Regions from separate parts of the Homo sapiens genome. Here all the other regions are linked to region 3. Evidence: promoter capture Hi-C in human tissues and cell types (Jung and others, 2019). All regions are on one chromosome and are shown on one strand. Each heading gives the region's core, a stretch centred on a gene start or on the middle of the fragment in contact. The rest is flanking DNA. Distances are from core to core; before and after follow the strand shown.

Region 1 (2,700 bases), core at 177-2,676, 330 kb before region 3:
GCACCCTAGATGATTTTGATGTGAAGCCAAATATAGAAACAACTCATGGACCCACGGTTGTGAGATTAAGTTCAATTCACTACGACATATTAGAAACTCAAGGACATTGAAGGATGCCCTCAAAAGTAGCCTCCCTTACTTGATCTCTGCCCCCTCGTCTCACAGAGATGAACTAAATCATTCGCCAGTGTCTCCACAGAAGCCAGGAAAAACTAGCCATTCAAATGGATGCTGTCAAAGCTTCAATTTTCAATAATTGGAATTCTTTCCTGCTCATTGTTACCCGAAATTACAAACCTGACAATTCCTGTGTTACACAAGACATTCCTGTATTTAAGTTGAAATAAGGTGTGATCGTCACTGAATGAGGGCTGGTTTTTCTCCTGCCAGTTAAGTAGTTTAATGGAGCACAACCGAAATACTTTCTTTACTAATCCTTATTCACACAGCCTCATCCAAACTTCCCCCAAAACTGCTTTCTTGCCATTTGAGCAAAAGCAATTAACTTAGAAACTGTGGGGAGAAGACTGCTTGGTGAATTCTGGAGTTCGGGGCTCCTCTTATCCTGACTTGACCTACCTGGGGGCGATGGCTGGGTCCCTAGGCAGCTCTATCTCCCCCATCCCACCTATCCCTGGGACTGCAAAGGGAGCTTCCTTTTGGCACTGAGACAAGGTTCTCCGAGAGCCACCCGACCTCCGCAGTGTCTCTGTCACCACGAGGGGCACCGCGCGGCAGGCATCCTCACCTTTCCTACACCGCGCCAAGGAGGCAGGAGTGCACTGGGCTACCCGAGCGAGGCAGAGAACCCGCCGGGATCCAGCGCTGGTTTACCCCACACCCTCGTCGAAGGGGCTCTCGAGGGCTCGGTTTCTGCCCAAGCCCCCTGCAAGGTGGAGGCATGACTCCTCCATCCCTTCCCCTTGAATTCAAACGTGAGGATGGTATCTGCGAGGCTAAAGCGGGGCTCAGATGGCCCAAACTTCAGACCACTCTCTTCTCCACTCGGCTTTTCTTCCATCCTCCTGGCCATGTGTCTCCCCGTGAGTCGTGGCCCAAGTCTCCCCACCTCGGCCAGCCGCCACCCTCTGGCCTGGCTCCCGCCCTCCTGCCCACCTGGCCCCTTCCCCCTCACCCAGCATGATGGGGCTGAGCCGCCGGGCCAGGCCTTTGGACAGGTCGTACACGTAGAGCTTCACCGGATAGAGATTCGGCGGCTCCATTGGGACCCGTGGCGACGGCGGCCACGACGGCCCTCGGGCACCCGGCAGCGGCTTGGACCTTCCCGTACCCGACGGGAGTGCGAAGCGGAGGGAGAGGGGGGGACCGAGCCCGGGCCCGGGCTGAGGGGTGGGGGAGAGGCCGCCCTGCGCTGCTCGCGCCCCCACACCCGCTACCGGCAACGACTACTGTGAGGTGACAGAGAGGGGACAGGGAGGGCCCACACGGAAGAGGGGGCGGGGGCAGGGATGCACTTTTGCGCATGTGCTTACAGTCCTGACGTAGGAAGGGGCGGGGCTTTGCCGAAGGGGGCGGGGCTCTCGCTGATGGGTTGGCTTTCGTCAGGGACATAGGTAGAAGCTGGTTGGGGAGTGTGCGTGCCAGCCTGACGCGATATAGTGCGCACATGCGTGATGACGTAGAGGGCGTTGATTGGGACCGAGTACAGGGCCCGCGCATGCGTGGATTGTCGTCTTCTGTCCAAGTTGGTCGCTTCCCTGCGCCAAAGGTAAGCGGGCCGTTATCCATTTGTGTTGTTCGCCAGCTAGGCCTGGCCTCGTCCCGCTTCGCTCGGTCGGTCTCGCGCGCCCCCATAGCCTTGCTAGAGGGTTAGCGTTAGCCTTAAGTGTGCGAATCCGAGGAGCAGCGACAGACTCGAGACCACGCTCCTTCCTCGGGAAGGAGGCGGCACCTCGCGTTTGAGGCCCGCCTGCGTTTGAGGCCCGCCTGCGCTTGCGGCCCGCCTGCGCTTGAGGCCTGTCTGCGTTTGAGATCTCATTGGGCGTGATTGAGGAATTTGGGGAGGTTTTTGGGCGGTATTGAGGACGAGGGGGTCCGTTAGTCAGCATAGAATCCTGGAGCGGGAATCCCTCACCGTCTAAATGGCGTCGGGGGCGGGACCTCCGGGATCTGGCTTCCGCGGGCCGCCGCCGGCCCTGAAACGTGAGGGATAGCTGAGATGAGGCAGCTACTGGGATGGCCCCCATGCGCATTTACATGCAGTCCGACTGCCGAGCTTTCGAGGCAGCAGGATTTACCGTCCACATTCCTCACTACTAACCAAGCTTTTAGAACAGATCTCACAAGAACCTAGAGGTCGGTATTTTTTCGATTTAAATTTGCCTGTTACTGACGTTAACGTCTTTCGCCTAGTGAGCAGTAGCCAACATGTCAGGGTGGGAGTCATATTACAAAACCGAGGGCGATGAAGAAGCAGAGGAAGAACAAGAAGAGAACCTTGAAGCAAGTGGTAAGTGACTTCAGCATGTAGTGCCATTCGGTGTGTGGAAGAAAGACCTTCCCTGCCTATCTCTGCTGGATGGACTTTGCTGTTTGATGGCCTGCCCTTCTCCTCCCAGATAATTCTGAAATTCTTTTCTTCCTTTGAACTTCGCAGAGCTACCCTAGGCTCTTATATGCAGATCTTACTCTAGTGTGCCCTAAGTTTTTTTTGGACACTGGTAGTTTGACATCTTTTGG
Region 2 (2,700 bases), core at 61-2,560, 410 kb after region 3:
AGGCCCATGAGACCCTCCAGGGCCAGTCCACTTGGCTTTGCAGCCTCCCCTGCGCCCGCCCGGTTCCTTCACTCCCATCCCATCCCGCACACTCTTCTCTGCTCTGTGCCCTTGCTCCTGCCACACTTCCCACCCCAGATGCCCTGCCCCTAGCTCCCTTCCCCAGTGGGCCTCAGCAGCAGGGGGTCGCCACTCTAGTAGTCTTTGCTGGAACCCAAACCAGGGGATGTGGCTGGACCAGGAATTTTTTCTTTTAGTTCATTTAATTAAAAAAAATTTAAAAAAAAACACTTTTTAGAGACAGGTTCTCTCTCTGTTGCCCAGGCTGGAGTGCAGCGGTGCAATCATAGCTCACTGCAACCTCAAACTCCTGGGCTCAAGGGATTCTCCCACCTTAGCCTCCTGAATAGCTGGGACTACAGGTGCACACCACCACACCTGGCTAATTTTTAAATTTTTTGTAGAGACGGGCTCTCCGTATGTCACCCAGGCTGGTCTTGAACTCCTGAGCTCAAGTGATCCTCCCGCCTCAGCCTCCCAAAGTGATGGGATTACAGGGATGAGCCACTGTGGTTGGCCAGTTTTTTTTGATAGTGACTTTATTTTAAATGACATAGAAATATGTAACAATCATAGTGGGACATGGTGGTGCACACCTGTAGTCCCAGCTATTAAGGAGGCTGAGGTGGGAGGATCCCGTGAGCCCAGGAGTTCAAGGCTGCAGTGAGCTGTGATCACACCACTGCGCTTCAACCTGGGTGACAGAGTGAGACCCTGTTTCTTAAAACAATTTTATTTAATAATTTTAAAAAAAGACCTTAAATCAGAAAGATTGTATTGTGCACCCGGTTGAGAAGTTGTCCCAGGCTCAGACACACAATGTCAAAGTCCTGGAGAACAGGGACCCTGTCTGTCATGTTCACGGATGTGGCCCCAGCACCTGGGATCTCTTGTCTGGGTGCCAAGGTGGGGTTGGGGGAAGGGTGAGAAGAGGGATGGGCATGGAGAGTAGGGAAGGAAGGAGGGAGGACAGGAAGGAGGGTGGGAGATATCTGGGGGTGAGTGGGTGGGTGGGGGGATTCATACCAGCCCATGGGCCACTTTTTTTTTTTTTTTTGAGAAAGAATGTCTCTCTGTTGCCCAGGCTGGAGTGCAGTGGTACGATCTCAGCTCACTGCAATCTCCGTCTCCTAGATTCAAGCGATTCTCCTGACTGCCTCAGCCTCCCAAGTAGCTGGGATTACAGGTGCCTGCCACTACACCTGCCTAATTTTTGTATTTTTAGTAGAGACAGGGTTTCACCATGTTGGCCAGGCTGGTCTCGAACTCCTGACCTGAAGTGATCCGCCGGCCTCGGCCTCTTAAAGTGCTGGGATTACAGGCATCAGCCACCTCGCCCAGCCACCCATGGGCCACTTTAGGCCCAGCCCCTAGTCCAGAGCTCAGAGAGGCCAGGATGGGATCCACATAGTCCCATGAACTGCCGGGGTGCAGAGGTCCCCAGCTCTCCGAACCACAGGGTTGCCAAGCTGGAACCCCCACTTGGCCATGGGCATCTGACCATTTGGCATCCTTGTCCTCCAGCCTCCCTAAGGGCCTCAGCTGAGCCTGTAGGCCCGGCTGGCCTTCCAGCCAAATTGACCAGATCTCTCGGGAATCATCCTTGACGCCTCTGCTCACTCCCTCTCTCCTGCATCCAATCCATCAGCAAATCCTGTTAGATTCTTTTCAGAGCCTCCTCTCTGTCTCCCTGTCCTGCCCTGGCCCCTCCCCCAGTCTATTCCCAACTCAGCAGCCAGAGGGATCCTTTTAAATGGTGCGTCCAGGAGGCCTCACCATCTGGCCCCCATTTCCTCTCTGAGCTCATCTGCCACCTCCTCCCCGCCACTTCCCTGCAGCCACATTGGCTCCTGTTACTCCCCGACTGTGCCAGGCACGCTCCCCACTCAGGGCCTTTGCTCTCTGCCTGGAAGGAATGCTCTTCCCCCAGAGCTACCTTCTCACCTCCTCACCCGCTTCCTGTCTTTGCTCAGATGCCACTTTCTCAATGAGACCTTCCATGGACACCTATTTATAATTGAAAAAAACAAATGTATCCCCTTTCTGCCCTTCCCTGTTTTATTTTTCTCCTTAGCACTTAGCATTCTTGATCACAATACCTGTTGCTTCCTTATTATGTTTTTTGTCTGTTTCTGTCCATTGGAATGTGATCTACAGCGGGGCAGGGGTGTTGTCTGTTTTGTCCACTGTTGTGTCCCCTGCACAGAGCATGGGGCCTATAGGGCTCACATTAGATGCTCCAAAGACATGTGCAATATGAATGAATGAGTGAATGAATAAATGAACCTCAGCCGGGTGCAGTGGCTCACACCTATAATCCCAGCACTTTGGGAGGCTGAGGTAGACAGATCACGAGGTCGGGAGTTTGAGACCAGCCTGGCAAACATGGTGAAACCCCATCTCTACTAAAAATACAAAAATTAGCTGGGCGTGGTGGCACATGCCTGTAATCCCAGTTACTTGGGAGGCTGAGGCACAAGAATTGCTTGAACCCGGGAGGCGGAGGTTGCAGTGAGCCGAGATAGTGCCACTGCACTCCAGCCTGGGTGACTGAGTGAGACTCCATCTCAAAATAAATAAATAAATTAATAAATAAAATAACAAAAACAAAAAAACAAATCTCTCTGAGGTCCAGGCTTG
Region 3 (2,700 bases), core at 58-2,557:
TCACCGTCTCAGCACAGTCCTGAGCCAGGCCTGCCTGAGCCCTGACTGCCCCTTCCTCTGGCTCTCACCTGTATTTGCTGTGAAGATTAACCACAAACACGATCAGGTCAATTCGGGGCCGATTCACACTGGAGGGCAAAGGGAGGGACTTTGCCAAGTGGCTGAAAAACAGGAAATTGCAGGACTCAAGATATCCGTACCCCCCTCATAGCGACCGTTTAAATGCTGCCCTTCATGTGGAAAGAGGCCGTCAAGGGCTCCCCACCTCATCCTAGCCACCCGAGGCTCTTGTGGCCACGACTCCTTGGGCCAGCACAGAGGCAGGACAGGTCCGGTCCTATTCAGATTACTCCTGTCTGATTCCCTCTGCCAGAAACGGGCTCTGTTTAGTCACCACCTCGGCAAGGGGAGGTTGGGATATAAGACGGCATGGGACTAGCCAGCTACGCTGCATGCTGGGAGAAGGACCAGCCTCAGAGGAGGGGGCGCTGGGCTTCGGAGTTTAGCAGCTAGGACCGAATCCCTCTGGAGTGAGAGACACGTGGGCCCAGGCCACAGCCGCGGCTACTTACACCTTCAGCTCGGAGGCGCAGTCCTCTTTGAGCATCGAGTCCGCCAGCTGCTGCAGAAGAGCATCCTCCGTGCCCACCAGCTGCGCAGGGAGAGAGAGCGGACAGTCGAGCCCTAGGCACAGCACCCCCTGGGGAGGGCCTGGCCCTTCGACCCACTCCCGGGGGGATCGGGACACCGCCAGCAGGCGGCTCGGAGGACATTTCCCGAGAAGTGGACCCCGCGAAGCGGCACGGGCTGGGGGCCTGAGGTTTGGACCCGCTGCAGGCCTGTGGGCACCGCACTCTCTACTACCCGACCCTCGCTCCCACCGCCGGCCTCTCCAGGAGGCCAGACCCCCAGACGCGGGAAAACCAATTCCAGGCGCGGGAACTCGCCAATCAGAAGCTGGGAAAGGGTCCGCCGAGCACCTATTGGTGGGTGCGTCCCTCAACCTCAGAGAGCGGCTACTCCAATTGGTTCAGAGCATGGCTCTCCGCCTATTCCCCGCCCCCGCCACGGTAGCGCGCGCTGGCTTGGCGCCTCAGAGAGCTCAGTTGACCTAGTGGCTGAAGCACCGCCCAGGAGGAAAAACCGGCGGGGGAAGCAGGGCCGCCTGCACCTACCAAGATGGTGGCCGTGTTCAGGCCGGGCAGCTTGTCCAGGGGCCTCAACACCGACATCACAGCCGCAGGACCAACCGTTGCTCCTGCGGTGCGCGCCGATCTTTCAAACCGCCCTGAGTCCAGCCCCTAGAGCGCGGCCTGGGGGCACGTGCCTCCTTATAGGCGGGGCTTCGCGGGACGGGACGGGGCCTCTTAAAGGAACCGAACCTTTATCTCCTTTTCTGAGGGGCGTTCCAGCGCTACCCGTGGAACACGTGGTGGACAGGCCTTTGGTTCCACGCTCCACAGTAAGCAGGTTTTTAGTGATTCCTTTGTTCACTTTCATTCATTCATGCTCATACACAGTACTTTTTTTTTTTTTTTTTGAGACAGAGTCTCGCTTTGTGGCCCAGGCTGGAGTGCAATGCGCGCAATCTCGGCTCACTGCAACTTCTGCCTCCCGAGTTTAAGCGATTCTCCTGCCTCAGCCTCCCAAGGAGCTGGGACTACGGGCGCGCGTCACCACGCCCGACTTATTTTTTTATTTTTAGTAGAGACGGGGTTTCTCCAAGTTGCCCAGGCCGGTCTCAAACTCCTGGCCTCAAGTGATCCCGCCTCGGCCTCCCAAAGTGAGTGCTGAGATTACAGACGTGAGCCACCGTGCCTGGCCCTTTTTTTTTTTTTTTTTTTGGAGCGTCACTTTGTTGCCCAGGCTGGACTATAGTGACACGATCATAGCTCACTACAGCTTCAAACTCCTGGGCTCAAGTCATCTTCCTGGCTTAGCCTCCTGAGTAGCTGGAACTACAGGCAAGTGCCACCATGGGGATCTGGCCATGTTGCCCAGGTGGGTCGTAAACTCCTGGCCTCAAGCAGCCCTCCTGCTTCAGCCTCCTGAGTAGCTGGGACTACCGCTGCACACCAGCAGGCCCTGCCAATTGACTGCTTTTACAGTGAGTGGTAAGCATGCTGTTCTTTGTCCAATGGGAGACTTTACCTCATCTTTCAAGGTTCCTTGCTGCAAACACAGCCTGAGTACAGAGCTGTCAGGGTCTTGCTTTCTTGACATACCCAGCAAGAACATGCAGGGACGCTCAGGGCCCATAGCAAACTGGTTCTGCCAACAGTTATATAATAACTTGTTCACTGTCTCTACATCTAAAATGTAAGAAACAAGAGGTTAGAGACTTTGTCACTTTGTATGTCCAGCACTCTAAAAGTCCCTGGTACATCGTAGTTAATAAATATTTGTTGAGTGAATGGATGGATTACATTCATCCATTCATTCTCAGCAGTCATTCATTCATCATTTCCTATGCCCAGACCCAATGCCCTACCCTAGGAAGTCAGTTGAATCAGACATTATTGATTAACTTAGTTTGATGGGGGTGGGATAGACAATGATAACAGTGTGTTCATTGTTGTAATAACTGGGAGAGCAGAGACACTGTCTAGCCTAAATCCTTCTTACTGCAGACTAAACTAACTGTGTCTTGCTCAGAAAGATCAGGACGTAAATGGCCCCATAGAGCCACTGCCCTCAGCA

Evidence for each region. The method cuts DNA at HindIII sites, captures the fragments that hold promoters and counts their contacts. A contact is called where the count stands out against the background at its distance.
Region 1: the fragment with the promoter of DESI1 here is called in contact with the fragment with the promoter of CENPM in region 3 in 1 of the 25 tissues and cell types used here (dorsolateral prefrontal cortex).
Region 2: a contact is called between a fragment that was not itself captured here and the fragment with the promoter of CENPM in region 3, in 1 of the 25 tissues and cell types used here (lymphoblastoid cells).

Annotation. Positions count from the first base shown.
Region 1 is chr22:41,619,617-41,622,316 of GRCh38, forward strand. DESI1 (desumoylating isopeptidase 1) reads right to left here and starts at 1,427. Exons shown (of 6, transcript NM_015704.3): 1 at 1,136-1,427. The coding sequence starts at 1,223. XRCC6 (X-ray repair cross complementing 6) reads left to right here and starts at 1,679. Exons shown (of 13, transcript NM_001469.5): 1 at 1,679-1,729; 2 at 2,374-2,470. The coding sequence starts at 2,389. RefSeq lists an enhancer at 845-1,446 and a silencer at 1,178-1,447. The HindIII fragment of the contact is 13,467 bases long and covers 1-2,700 here.
Region 2 is chr22:42,352,394-42,355,093 of GRCh38, forward strand. No RefSeq gene overlaps it. Among named protein-coding and RNA genes, the nearest start is that of LINC01315, 15 kb to the right of the region's middle. The HindIII fragment of the contact is 5,752 bases long and covers 1-2,700 here.
Region 3 is chr22:41,945,845-41,948,544 of GRCh38, forward strand. It overlaps CENPM (centromere protein M), which reads right to left and starts at 1,308. Exons shown (of 6, transcript NM_024053.5): 1 at 1,176-1,308; 2 at 573-652; 3 at 69-161. The coding sequence starts at 1,232. It also overlaps a transcript of SMIM45 not described here. RefSeq lists an enhancer at 1,112-1,321. The HindIII fragment of the contact is 14,723 bases long and covers 1-2,700 here.